3 separate regions of the Homo sapiens genome follow, and all the other regions are linked to region 2. Evidence: promoter capture Hi-C in 16 types of primary human blood cells and fetal thymus (Javierre and others, 2016). All regions are on one chromosome and are shown on one strand. The core of a region is centred on a gene start or on the middle of the fragment in contact, and the rest is flanking DNA. Distances in the headings are between cores, read along the strand shown.

Region 1 (3,832 bases), core at 247-2,746, 600 kb after region 2:
GGCTCTCCTTCTGCTATGCCACAAAGGAGTGCTGACAGCGACTTAATATGCGCTGGAATCAGCCTCCAGTGTCCTGGTCCTCCTGGTCCACAATTCTCTGACCCATGTGCCTCATCTCCTTTGCCTCTTCTGAGTTCCCAGTGCTCGCTTCCGTTGCCTCTTCTGAGTTCCCATTGTGCTTTATATCTTTTGTTTGTTTTTTGACAGAGTCTTGCTCTGTTGCCCTGGCTGGAGTGCAGTGGCACGATCTCAGCTCACTGCAACCTCTGCCTCCCGGGTTCAAGCAATTCTCCTTCCTCAGTCTCCTGAGTAGCTGGGATTACAGGAGTGCGCCGCCACGCCCGACTAATTTTTGTATTTTTAGTAGAGACGGGGGTTTCACCATGTTGGTCAGGCCGGTCTCGAACTCCTGACCTCAGGTGGTCCACCTGCCTCGGCCTCCCAAAGTGCTGGGATTACATGCGTGAGCCATCGCGCCCTGCCTGTGCTTTCTATCTTCACACACTTCTATAGCACAGTGCTTATCACACTGAATTACAGATTTGTATCTACCTCCTCCTCATTGTAAAAAGAAACGGTGGGGTTTTTATTATTCCTATTATTTTTGTAGACTTGGGTTCTCACTATGTTGCCTCCTGCCTGCGCCTCCCACAGTGCTGGGATTACAGACGTGAGCCAACATGCCTGGCCAAAAACTGTATTTTACTCTCATTTTGGGATTTTAAGTGCCTAGTAAACAGCAGGATTTAGCACATCGTTGAAGATCTTTGAACTGGAAGGATTGGCTACAGCAGACACTATTGTGTCAGGTGGCTGAAGGGAGTCCTGATAGAAGTGGGTCGTGTGGGAAAGGTGGGCAGGCAGAAAGGATACAGATGAGGCTCTGGGTGCTGTTGAACATGGAGACTCCTGAGAGGAAACCGGCCAGCTCCACTGCAAAGAGGCCCAGGGTGACAGAGAGCGCGGCCACCAGCCTGCAGAGAGGAAGTGGACTGGCCCAGGCCTTTGGACTTATTCTAAGACCCCTCCACTCCCACCACCTCTTCGTTCTGGCCACCCCGTCCCAAGAGCTCACTGAATGTCCTGCTTGTCATACTCCTCGGGGGTGAACGTGAGAGGCAGGCAGGCCTGTATGTTGCTGTCCTGGGAGCAGGGCACAGGAAGAGAAGTGAAAAAGGGGCAGGCTGCAGGGCAGGCCTGGGGGCGGCGGGAAACAAGAAAACCCAAGAGGGTAAGACACTGGGAGGGGGCAGGGTAGGACTAGGACCACTCAGAGATGGGAATGGGGACGGATTGAGTGCAGCCGTGGGTCTTACCCGGGACCAGAATAAGGTGATGACGACCACCAGATGCGCCAGGAGCGTCAGGAAGCGAGAGGGCACAAGCCCTGAGACCCGGCCCATGGCCCTCGGGGACAAGGGCGGCGGTCTCTGAGGCTGGAAGTTCAGAGACAGCGACTCCTGAAGTCTCCCCGCAAGCCGACAAATCTAGACGAACGCCTCCTTCCCGCCCGCTCAGGCACCGCCCAGTTGCCTTGGTAACCGTGTACGCGGGCTCGGCGCCGCGTTCTCGGAAATCCTCGCGAGCAGTACATTCTCCGGCTGCTGCGGGTCTCTCAGGGCCAGCGAAGGTCAGGGGTACCCGAAGGCGCTTCTAACCTAACGGCTGGGTACCCGCGCGCAGCCAGGCCCTTTGTTCCTCAGAGGGTGCGAGGTGGCACAGCCCCGCAGCGCCCGATCTGCCCACGCAGGGCGGATGAACGGAAACCCACCCTGGCCTAGCTTGGGGACACCAATGCTTCTGCTGTTGCCCACGCCGGGAGCGGCCCCCAGCCCCAGCTACGCTGCCCAGTTGTGGATCACTTGAGACCGCTGCCACCACCACGCCGGGCTGAGTTCCCCGCCATGCCGAAGACTCAGACCCGCTCCCCTTCCCCTCCTCTGCATGCCTTTAGCTTCCCACCAAGCTGGGCCTGAGAAACAAGGGACCCGAACCTGGAGAGGCCGGTGTTCCTGGACTGCTCTGCAGTCACAGATTGTCACGGAGCCCCTGGTTGTCTGAGGACCCCAGGCCTGAACCTTCCTTGAGGAAGACTGATTTCTTTCAGACTACTTTGCTCAGTTTGGTGAGGGATTTGCAGAGTGCAAAAAATGGCCAGCGTCCTTAAACTAGCATGGGGATAAGAGCAGAGCAAGGTGGCTGGAAAGAGTGGGAGTGGACGAAGGGAATGGGACAGTCCCTGCGTCTCTGGGAGGCTTGGAGCCGGCTGGAAGGGAAACTCAACTCAGATTTCTTTGTCCCTTGGAGGTGCTGGGCCTCCGACATTGCCCAGCTACAGTCCAAGAAGCTCTTATCATCGGCGACCTCATGACCTTTGGGCCTCAGCGCAGGTCCCTGCAGATCTGAAAGTTCTTTAATTGCTGAGTCAAGTCCCATCCTCAAGGAACCTCCCGGCCCATCTCCCAGGAGAACAATCTCTTCCTACTCCCCACTCCCCATCTCAGTGCTTTTAGCCAGCCTAAACTACAAGCCCAAGAGGCATTTCTCATTCCTTCAACAAATATTTGTATATGTTTATTGATTACCTAGTAAGGGTATTCTAGTCAGGGAGATCAACAACAGACATGCAAACAAATAAATCCGTAAGATAATAGGCGCTACAAACAGGGAAAAGCGGGCTGTGCACTGTGGCTCACACCTGTAATCCCAGCGCTTTAGGAGGCCTAGGAGGGCGGATCACCTGAGGTCAGGAGCTCGAGACCAGACTGACCAACATGCTGAAACCCTGTCTCCACTAAAAATACAAAATTAGCCGGGCGTGGTGGCGCGTGCCTGTAATCCCAGCTATTCGGGAGGCTGAGGCATGGGAATCGCTTGAACCCAGGAGGTGGAGGTTGCAGTGAGCCGAGATCGCGCCATTGCACTCCAGCCTCTGCAACAAGAGCGCAACTCCGTCTCCAAAAAAAAAAGAAACGCTAGAATTATAATTCTATAAAAATAGGGCATTTATAATTCTATTAAAATAGAGCATTTATTTTGTTTTATTTTATTTATTTACTTTTTCTGAGACGGAGTCTCGCTCTGTCTCCCAGGCTGGAGTGCAGTGGCGCAATTTCGGCTCACTGCAAGCTCGGCCTCCCGGGTTCACGCCATTCTCCCGTCTCAGCCTCCTGAGTAGCTGGGACTACAGGCGCTCGCCACCATGCCCGGCTAATTTTTTGTGTTTTTAGGAGAGACGGAGTTTCACTGTGTTAGCCAGGATGGTCTCGATCTCCTGCCCTCGTGATCCGCCAGCCTCGGCCTTGCAAAGTGCTGGGATTACAGGCATGAGCCACCGCGCCCAGCCGGACATTTAACCTTAAACTTTATTTTAGAAACTTTGGCCAAAAATTGGCCGGGAGCGGTGGCTCAGGCATGTAATCCCAGCACTTTGGGAGACCGAGGCAGGGAGATCACCTGAGGTCAGGAGTTTCAGACCGGCCTGGCCAACATGGTGAAACCTCATCTCTACTGAAAAAAAAAAAAAAAAAAAAGTTAAAAAGTTAGCCAGGTGTGGTGGCGCCCGCCTCTAATCCCAGCTATTCCAGAGGCTGAGGGAGGAGAAGTGCTTGAACCCGGGAGGCAGAGGTTGCAGTGATCCAAGATCGTGCCACTGCACTCCCGCCTGGGAAACAGACCAAGACTTCGTCTCAAAAAAAAAGAAAAGAAATAAAAAGAAAATGCACTCTGGGACCAGAAGCAAAAGCCCATGCCTGTAATCCCAGCACTTTGGGAGGCCAAGGCGAAGTATTCCTTGAACCCAAGACTTTGAAGCCAGTCTGAGCAACATAGT
Region 2 (3,481 bases), core at 761-3,260:
AGGCAGAAATTGAAGTCCTACCCCTGGGAGTCTCCATGTGAAGGGCCTGCTTTCTTTCTCTTCTCTAGAATGTGGCCAGGCAGAATAATGACAGTGACTGTGGTGCTTTTGTGTTGCAGGTAAGCAGATGATGGGGCCACCTCCCCTAGCTCTGAAGTCAGTTGGGTTAAAGGGTCGGGAGGCTGTTATGCATCCCCTCATTTGGCTCATAGTCAGTTGTGGAGCAGGAAGTAATCTGTTTTAGAACACCAAAACACTGGCTTCACTGGTTCTCTTCTGGACTTCTCCATCCCACATTGGGACTGGGTCTCTAGTCTTGGGCCTCTGGCCTTCATAGAGCTCCCTGCTAACCTCCAACTCAGTGTATTTTCTCCATCTAAAACATTCTATCAAGTAAGAACACTAGCTTTAGAGTCAGGCTGTTTTTGAACCCCAGGCTGTGGGACCCTGGCTCCCTTTGGGGATGTTCTCTGAAGGATGGAGACACATCTCATATGAAATGTGTAGCACAGGTCCTGACACGGGGGGTTTCTCATGGCTTGCTTTGTTAACACCCAGTACTGCAAGCATCTGGCCCTGTCTCAGCCATTCAGCTTCACCCAGCAGGACATGCCCAAACTTCGTCGGCAGATCTACAAGGAGCTGTGTCACTGCAAACTCACTGTGTGAGCCTCGTACCCCAGACCCCAAGCCCATAAATGGGAAGGGAGACATGGGAGTCCCTTCCCAAGAAACTCCAGTTCCTTTCCTCTCTTGCCTCTTCCCACTCACTTCCCTTTGGTTTTTCATATTTAAATGTTTCAATTTCTGTATTTTTTTTTCTTTGAGAGAATACTTGTTGATTTCTGATGTGCAGGGGGTGGCTACAGAAAAGCCCCTTTCTTCCTCTGTTTGCAGGGGAGTGTGGCCCTGTGGCCTGGGTGGAGCAGTCATCCTCCCCCTTCCCCGTGCAGGGAGCAGGAAATCAGTGCTGGGGGTGGTGGGCGGACAATAGGATCACTGCCTGCCAGATCTTCAAACTTTTATATATATATATATATATATATATATATATATATATATATATATATATATATATATATATATATATATATAAAAATATATAAATGCCACGGTCCTGCTCTGGTCAATAAAGGATCCTTTGTTGATACGTAAGTGGTGGTCTTCCTTAAGGGGCTTCAAATTAGTGGATATGCTTAGCTCAGACCTTCCAGCCAGTCTCTTGAGACTAAAGGGTTCAGCTTTCCATCCCTGGCTCAGGCACTGCCAACACCTTGTCTTCACCCAAACAAATCCCCGAGATGGGAGCAGAGAGCAGGAAGGAGGGAAAGTAGATAAGCCTCAAGAATAAGGGCATCCGAGAGGGAAGCTGGGGAACTGGACACAAGGGACTGGGGAGGGGACCAACCAGGATTCATGATAGTACCCCAAAGCCCTTTACAGTTTTCTTCCATCCCTCCACCATCCAGCCAGGGGAATCCTCCCATCCCTACGATATCGCTGTTGATTCCTTCATCCCTGGCACACGTCCAGGCAGTGTCGAATCCATCTCTGCTACAGGGGAAAACAAATAACATTTGAGTCCAGTGGAGACCGGGAGCAGAAGTAAAGGGAAGTGATAACCCCCAGAGCCCGGAAGCCTCTGGAGGCTGAGACCTCGCCCCCCTTGCGTGATAGGGCCTACGGAGCCACATGACCAAGGCACTGTCGCCTCCGCACGTGTGAGAGTGCAGGGCCCCAAGATGGCTGCCAGGCCTCGAGGCCTGACTCTTCTATGTCACTTCCGTACCGGCGAGAAAGGCGGGCCCTCCAGCCAATGAGGCTGCGGGGCGGGCCTTCACCTTGATAGGCACTCGAGTTATCCAATGGTGCCTGCGGGCCGGAGCGACTAGGAACTAACGTCATGCCGAGTTGCTGAGCGCCGGCAGGCGGGGCCGGGGCGGCCAAACCAATGCGATGGCCGGGGCGGAGTCGGGCGCTCTATAAGTTGTCGATAGGCGGGCACTCCGCCCTAGTTTCTAAGGATCATGTCTGCGAGCCAGGATTCCCGGTAAGAAAGGCATTTGCAAGAGATTGTGGCTGCTTATTTTGCCGCCCCCTTCCGACGGGCCCGCCGGGGGTAGCTGAGAGGCCCACCAGGGTTGCGGGAGAAACCGAACCGGGTGGGGGGAGGGTCCGACTTGGAGGGGCGAGGGGGAAGACCCACGGCCGACGCGGCCACCAGGTCGAGGCGGAGGGTAGGGACAGCCCGGCTAGGGTCAGGCGTGCGAGGTCTGTTACGAGGCCTCGACCCGAGGCGGTGCCATGCGCGAAGCCCCGGCGCTGAGTGGCGAGACGGGGTCGCGACCTGGCGTGGGAAAGAAAGGTGGAGGCGGCCGCCACTATGTGTGGCCCAGAGCCGGCAGGTCCGGTTGCCTCCCTGTGCCGGGGGAGGGACGGCGCGCGGGGTTCCGGAGCATTCTGACGGTACCACTCGCGAGAGGCGGGGGTGCCTGGTCCTTAGATCCAGTCACTTCGTCGCGGCTAAAACACGGGTCGGGGAGAAGAAACCGGCCGTTCAGTGTGCTGGTTTTCTTGACGGCCAGGACTGAGCCTAACCCCGAGGAGCGGCCGCGTGAGGCACCAGGAGCCCACCCGGCGCCGGGCGGGCGGGTCCATTTTGCCGCACAAGCCGGGCTATTGGCAAACTGCGGATGGGCAGGTCCACCTTCCTTCGGGGGTGAGCGGCCTGAGGTATGGGAGGGCGACGCTACTTCGCGACGGGGGCGGGCGGGATGTGGATTGTTCATGGAGGGGTGGGAGACGCCGCCGGGTGGTCGAGGGAGCGAGCACATGGTGGCCTGAGGCGTTCCCCTCCCCCAGTCTGCTTCGCTTCTAAGTGTTGTGCAATCTCCCCCTTTGCTAGCTCGGCTTGGGCTCATTGTGCGCGAGGCCGCCACCGCCCGCGGCCTCCCACATCCGGGCAACGCGAGGGGGGGGCTTCGGCTGGAGGGAGTGGGGGAGGGCGCGGGCGGGATGACGTGGGGGGAAGGGGATGTCCTACCCTCCGATCTGGGAGGTGAAGGGCGGGACTTCCAGCGCGCTGGTGCTGCGGTGGGAGGTGCACGCGCTTGGGCTTTAAGCGGCTGGGTCGGGCCCACGTGGACCCGGCGGCAAGCACCACCTCTGGGCACCGTGAGCGCGGCGGCACGCCTGCCGGCCTGTCTTCAGAAAGGGTCACCCCCTTATGTCGGGGGTGGCCTGGCCTGAGCCGCTGCCTGCATGGGGCAAATGCCTCAGTTTTATAGAAACTCCTCCTTTGGGTATTTTTTGGGAGCTGGTGGGAGTTGGATCTGGGACAGCAGATTGATGGCATCATGCAGGCCACTCCTGACAGAGCCCGGCTGTCAGGATTTCTGAGTGCTTCGGTCGGGCAGGGGACAAAACTTATGCTTTAAACCAACAGATCCAGAGACAATGGCCCCGATGGGATGGAGCCCGA
Region 3 (3,801 bases), core at 1,302-3,801, 680 kb after region 2:
TGTAGTTCCTGTTTCTCGGATGGCCTATCCTTTGCTTGGTGCACTGAATACGACTGTCTCTCAAAGTGATCCCATGGCTTCAAGGTAAAATTACCTAAGTTTTGTTAAAAAGGCAAATTCGTGTTTTCATCTACTGAGTAAAAATGGAGCAGACTGGATGTGGTGGCTCTCGCCTGTAATCCCAGCACTCTGGGGGGCCAAGGTGGATCGCTCGAGCCCAGTAGTTCACTACTAGTCTGGGCAACAAGGCAAAGACCCGTCTCTACAAAAAAGAAAAATTAGCTGGGCATGGTGGCTCGTGCCTGTAGTCCCAGCTACTCGGGAGGCTGAGGTGGGAGGATCACCTGAGCCTGGGAAGGTTGAGACCCGCCTGGGCAACATGGTGAAACTCTAAAACAATTCAAAATTAGCTGGATTAGCCTGGCGTGGTAGCACATGCCAGTAGTCCCAGCTACTTGGGAGGCTGAGGTGGGAGGATCACCTTAGCCTGGGAAGGTTGAGACCCGCCTGGGCAACATGGTGAAACTCTAAAACAATTCAAAATTAGCTGGGTTAGCCTGGCGTGGTAGCACACGCCAGTAGTCCCAGCTACTTGGGAGGCTGAGGTGGGAGGATCGCTTGAGCCCAGGGAGGTTGAGGCTGCAGTGAGCCATGATGGTGCCACTGCACTCTAGCCTGGGTGACAGAGTAAGACCTTGTTTCAAAAAAAAAAAAAAAAAAAAAAAGGAGGGAGGAAGAGGAAGATCCAGATTAATACAGGCTGAAGTTTAAGAACACAATATGCTTTCCCACAATTATCTCAACCACTGCATGGGTTTAACAGCCATGGCCAGATGATGATTGTTCCTGTATGTCTACTTTAGCTGAGATCTCATTCCTGAGCTTTAGTCCTATCCATCTGCCAGACTCTCCATGGCCAATCCACAGGCAGCACACATGCCCAACACTGAACTTTCCACAAAACCCTGTCCTTTTCTAGAACTCTTCTAGTGTTATGTTCACTAACTTAGCAAATAGTACCCTTAACCAAACAGTTGTTCTATCCTGAAACCTAGATGTCCTCCTTAGCTCCTTCCTTTCCCTACATAGGTCCCAGTCCTGGCTGGGTGCAGTGGCTCACGCCTGTAATCCCAGCAGTTTCGGAGGCCAAGGCGGGCAGATCACGACGTCAGGAGATCGAGACCATCCTGGCTAACATGGTGAAACACCGTCTGTACTTAAAAAAAAGAAAAAAAATACAAAAATGAGCTGGGCATGGCGGCGCGTGCCTGTATGCCTGTAATTCCAGCTACTCGGGAGGCTGAGGCAGAAGAATCGCTTGAACCTGGGAGGCAGAGGTTGCAGTGAGCCGAGATCGCGTCACTGCACTCCAGCCTGGTGACAAAGCTAGACTCCGTCTCAAAACACACACACACACACACGCACACAAACCAATCCTTTAGATTGTATTTTCTTAACATCTTATTTATTTATTTATTTATTTATTTATTTATTTATTTATTTATTTGAGATGGAGTCTGGCTCTGTCGTCCAGGCTAGAGTGCAGTGGCGCGATCTCGGCTCACTGCAACCTCCACTTCCGTGGTTCCCTGCTCAGCTTCCTGAGCAGCTGGGATTACCGGCGTGTGCCACCACACCCAATTACCCTCATGTTAAAGTCGCTGCTTAGCAAGAGGTACAAAACTGTCAGCTCTGACCCCTCCACCACCACCCAACTGAACTTTTGAGTTTTTCAGACACCTGCTCTATCCTCCTGCCTTTGAATATGTGTTTGCTTCCGTCCTGAAACCCCTTCCGGCGCTTTTTTTTTTTTTTTTTTTTTTTTGACAGAGTCTCGCTCTGTTGCCCAGGCTGGAGTGCTGTGGCACAATCTCAGCTCACTGCAGCCTCCGTCTACCCGGTTCAAGCGATTCTCCTGCCTCAACCTTCTGAGTAGCTGGAATTACAGGTGCGCGCCACCACGCCCGGCTAATTTTTGTATTTTTAGTAGAGATGAGGTTTCACCATGTTGGTCAGGCTGGTCTCGAACTCCTGACCTCAAGTAATCCGCCCGCCTCCGCCTCCCACAGTGCTGGATTACAAGCGTGAGCCACCACACCCAGCCCCTTTCGGCGCTTTTTGCCTTCTACACGCACTTCGGGTCTCAGACGCTTTTACTTATTATGGTTGCCCTTTTCCCCTACAGCTCCGTCAAGGGTCTTCTCCAGGAACCCACAGCCCCATAGTTCCCCCATTAACCTGCTCCTGGTTTCCCACCAGGATTAAACCCTAGAGAGTGAACGGAGACCAGTTTAAGGCTCACAGCGGGCGCCGCGTGAATGAGGGAATAAACATTCGCAGAACCAGTAAGAGGTAGGAGCGGACCGACTCACAACCCCCTCACCCATGGGCCGGACGCGGCCAGCGAGCCCAGAGAGACAAGGCAGAGGAAATAGGAAGAGAAAGAGTATCTGTGACAAACAAGAAAAAAGGAACAAGAGACGTAATAGCAGCACTCACGGAGGAAGGGACCTGGGCCCGGCCAGCCGCCATGATGCGCCGGAGCTCCGCCCCCGGGAGGGGCAGGTGCTCGCTTGGGGGTGGGGATGGGGGTGGGGGGGCGCTCGGTGACGTCACCGGTGAGCGGGTTTCCTCGCCACCTCCAGCTCCTTCTCGCTGCTCACCCCCTCGCTTCCTAGAGACTCCGCGAGGCGCCTCGGTGCACCATCCCAACTCCCGACACCCCTGTCTCTTTTCTCTGATTTTTTTTTTTTTAAGACGAAGCCTGGTTCTGTCGCCCAGGCTGGAGTGCAGTGGCGCGATCTCGGCTCACTGCAACCCCCGCCTCCCAGGTTCAAGGGATTTTCCGGCCTCAGCCTCCTGAGTAGCTAGGATTACAGGCACCTGCCACCACCACGCCCGGCTAATTTTTTTTTTTTTTTTTTTTTTTGTATTTTTAGTAGAGACGGGGTTTCACCATGTGGCCAGGCTGGTCTCAAACTCCTGACCTCAGGTGATCCACCCGCCTCAGCCTCCCAAAGTGCTGGGATTACAGGCGTGAAACACAGCCCCTGGCCCTCTCTGATTTTTTTGAGACGAGGTCTCGCTCTATCGCCCAGGCTGGAGTGCAGCGGCGCCATCTCGGTTCACTGCAGCCTCGACCTCCCGGGCTCAAGCGATCCTCCCACCTCAGCCCACCAAGTAGCTGGGATCGCAGGCTTGCACCGCCACACCCGGCTAATTTTTGTATTTTTCTGTAGCGACATGGTTTCGCCATGTTGCCCAGACTGGTCTCGAACTCCTGGGCTCAAGCGATCTGCCCGCCTCGGGCTCCCAAAGTGCTCGGATTACAGGCGGGAGCCACCGCGCCCAGCCTCCGTCTCCCTCCTAAGTGACATCCTGTCCGGCATCCCGCAGGCCTTCAGATGGATGGGGTAGCAGAGCTCAGGAACTCAAACACAGCCCGCCTGGTGGATGACTTCTAAGCATCTTTCAGTCTCCCTGATCTTGCCAAGCAGAGAAGGGCTTCCTCGTAATGCCACCAAAGCACAACTTTCACATGCTTGCTTTATGGCCTTAACTAACTGATGTCATTACTTAACTGTCCCCGCGGGGACGGGGAACTGAATGTATTTTCACAAACGTCAGTTCAAGACAGATTTGTGGGAGAAACCACCTGGGGATAAACCTCTCCCCACCAAGAACCTAGAATTCGGCCGGGTGGCTGGGGAAAAGTGGGCGGGGCGTAGTCGCCCCGGCGCTGGCAGGTCCAGTCTCTGCCCGCGGCGCACGCGGATGACGTAACAAACGCGCGCGACGATT

Evidence for each region. Contacts are between HindIII fragments. The CHiCAGO score rates a contact against its expected background, and 5 or more counts as called.
Region 1: the fragment with the promoter of TMEM107 here is called in contact with the fragment with the promoter of EIF4A1 in region 2 in 1 of 17 cell types (activated CD4 T cells); the score reaches 5.5 in activated CD4 T cells.
Region 3: the fragment with the promoter of CTC1 here is called in contact with the fragment with the promoter of EIF4A1 in region 2 in 1 of 17 cell types (naive CD4 T cells); the score reaches 5.2 in naive CD4 T cells.

The regions. Positions count from the first base shown.
Region 1 is chr17:8,174,884-8,178,715 of GRCh38, forward strand. It overlaps TMEM107 (transmembrane protein 107), which reads right to left and starts at 1,497. Exons shown (of 5, transcript NM_183065.4): 1 at 1,317-1,497; 2 at 1,076-1,143; 3 at 874-974. The coding sequence starts at 1,403. All of the region lies in intron 2 of LOC105371520 (a long non-coding RNA gene), which reads left to right. RefSeq lists enhancers at 885-934, 985-1,044, 1,036-1,647, 1,075-1,124, 1,285-1,374 and 3 more. The HindIII fragment of the contact is 13,203 bases long and covers 1-3,832 here.
Region 2 is chr17:7,570,815-7,574,295 of GRCh38, forward strand. It overlaps EIF4A1 (eukaryotic translation initiation factor 4A1), which reads left to right and starts at 2,011. Exons shown (of 11, transcript NM_001416.4): 1 at 2,011-2,050; 2 at 3,446-3,481. The coding sequence starts at 2,028. It overlaps SENP3 (SUMO specific peptidase 3), which reads left to right. Exons shown (of 11, transcript NM_015670.6): 10 at 69-119; 11 at 559-1,155. The coding sequence ends at 669. It overlaps SENP3-EIF4A1 (SENP3-EIF4A1 readthrough (NMD candidate)), which reads left to right. Exons shown (of 22, transcript NR_037926.1): 10 at 69-119; 11 at 559-665; 12 at 1,470-2,050; 13 at 3,446-3,481. RefSeq lists enhancers at 1,349-1,408, 1,439-1,488, 1,509-1,568, 1,689-1,758, 2,265-3,020 and 2 more and silencers at 1,929-1,988, 1,999-2,058, 2,959-3,098. The HindIII fragment of the contact is 10,998 bases long and covers 1-3,481 here.
Region 3 is chr17:8,245,505-8,249,305 of GRCh38, forward strand. CTC1 (CST telomere replication complex component 1) reads right to left here and starts at 2,552. Exons shown (of 23, transcript NM_025099.6): 1 at 2,500-2,552. The coding sequence starts at 2,532. It overlaps PFAS (phosphoribosylformylglycinamidine synthase), which reads left to right and starts at 3,785. Exons shown (of 28, transcript NM_012393.3): 1 at 3,785-3,801. RefSeq lists enhancers at 2,349-2,488, 2,969-3,088, 3,213-3,801 and a silencer at 2,579-2,628. The HindIII fragment of the contact is 6,585 bases long and covers 1-3,801 here.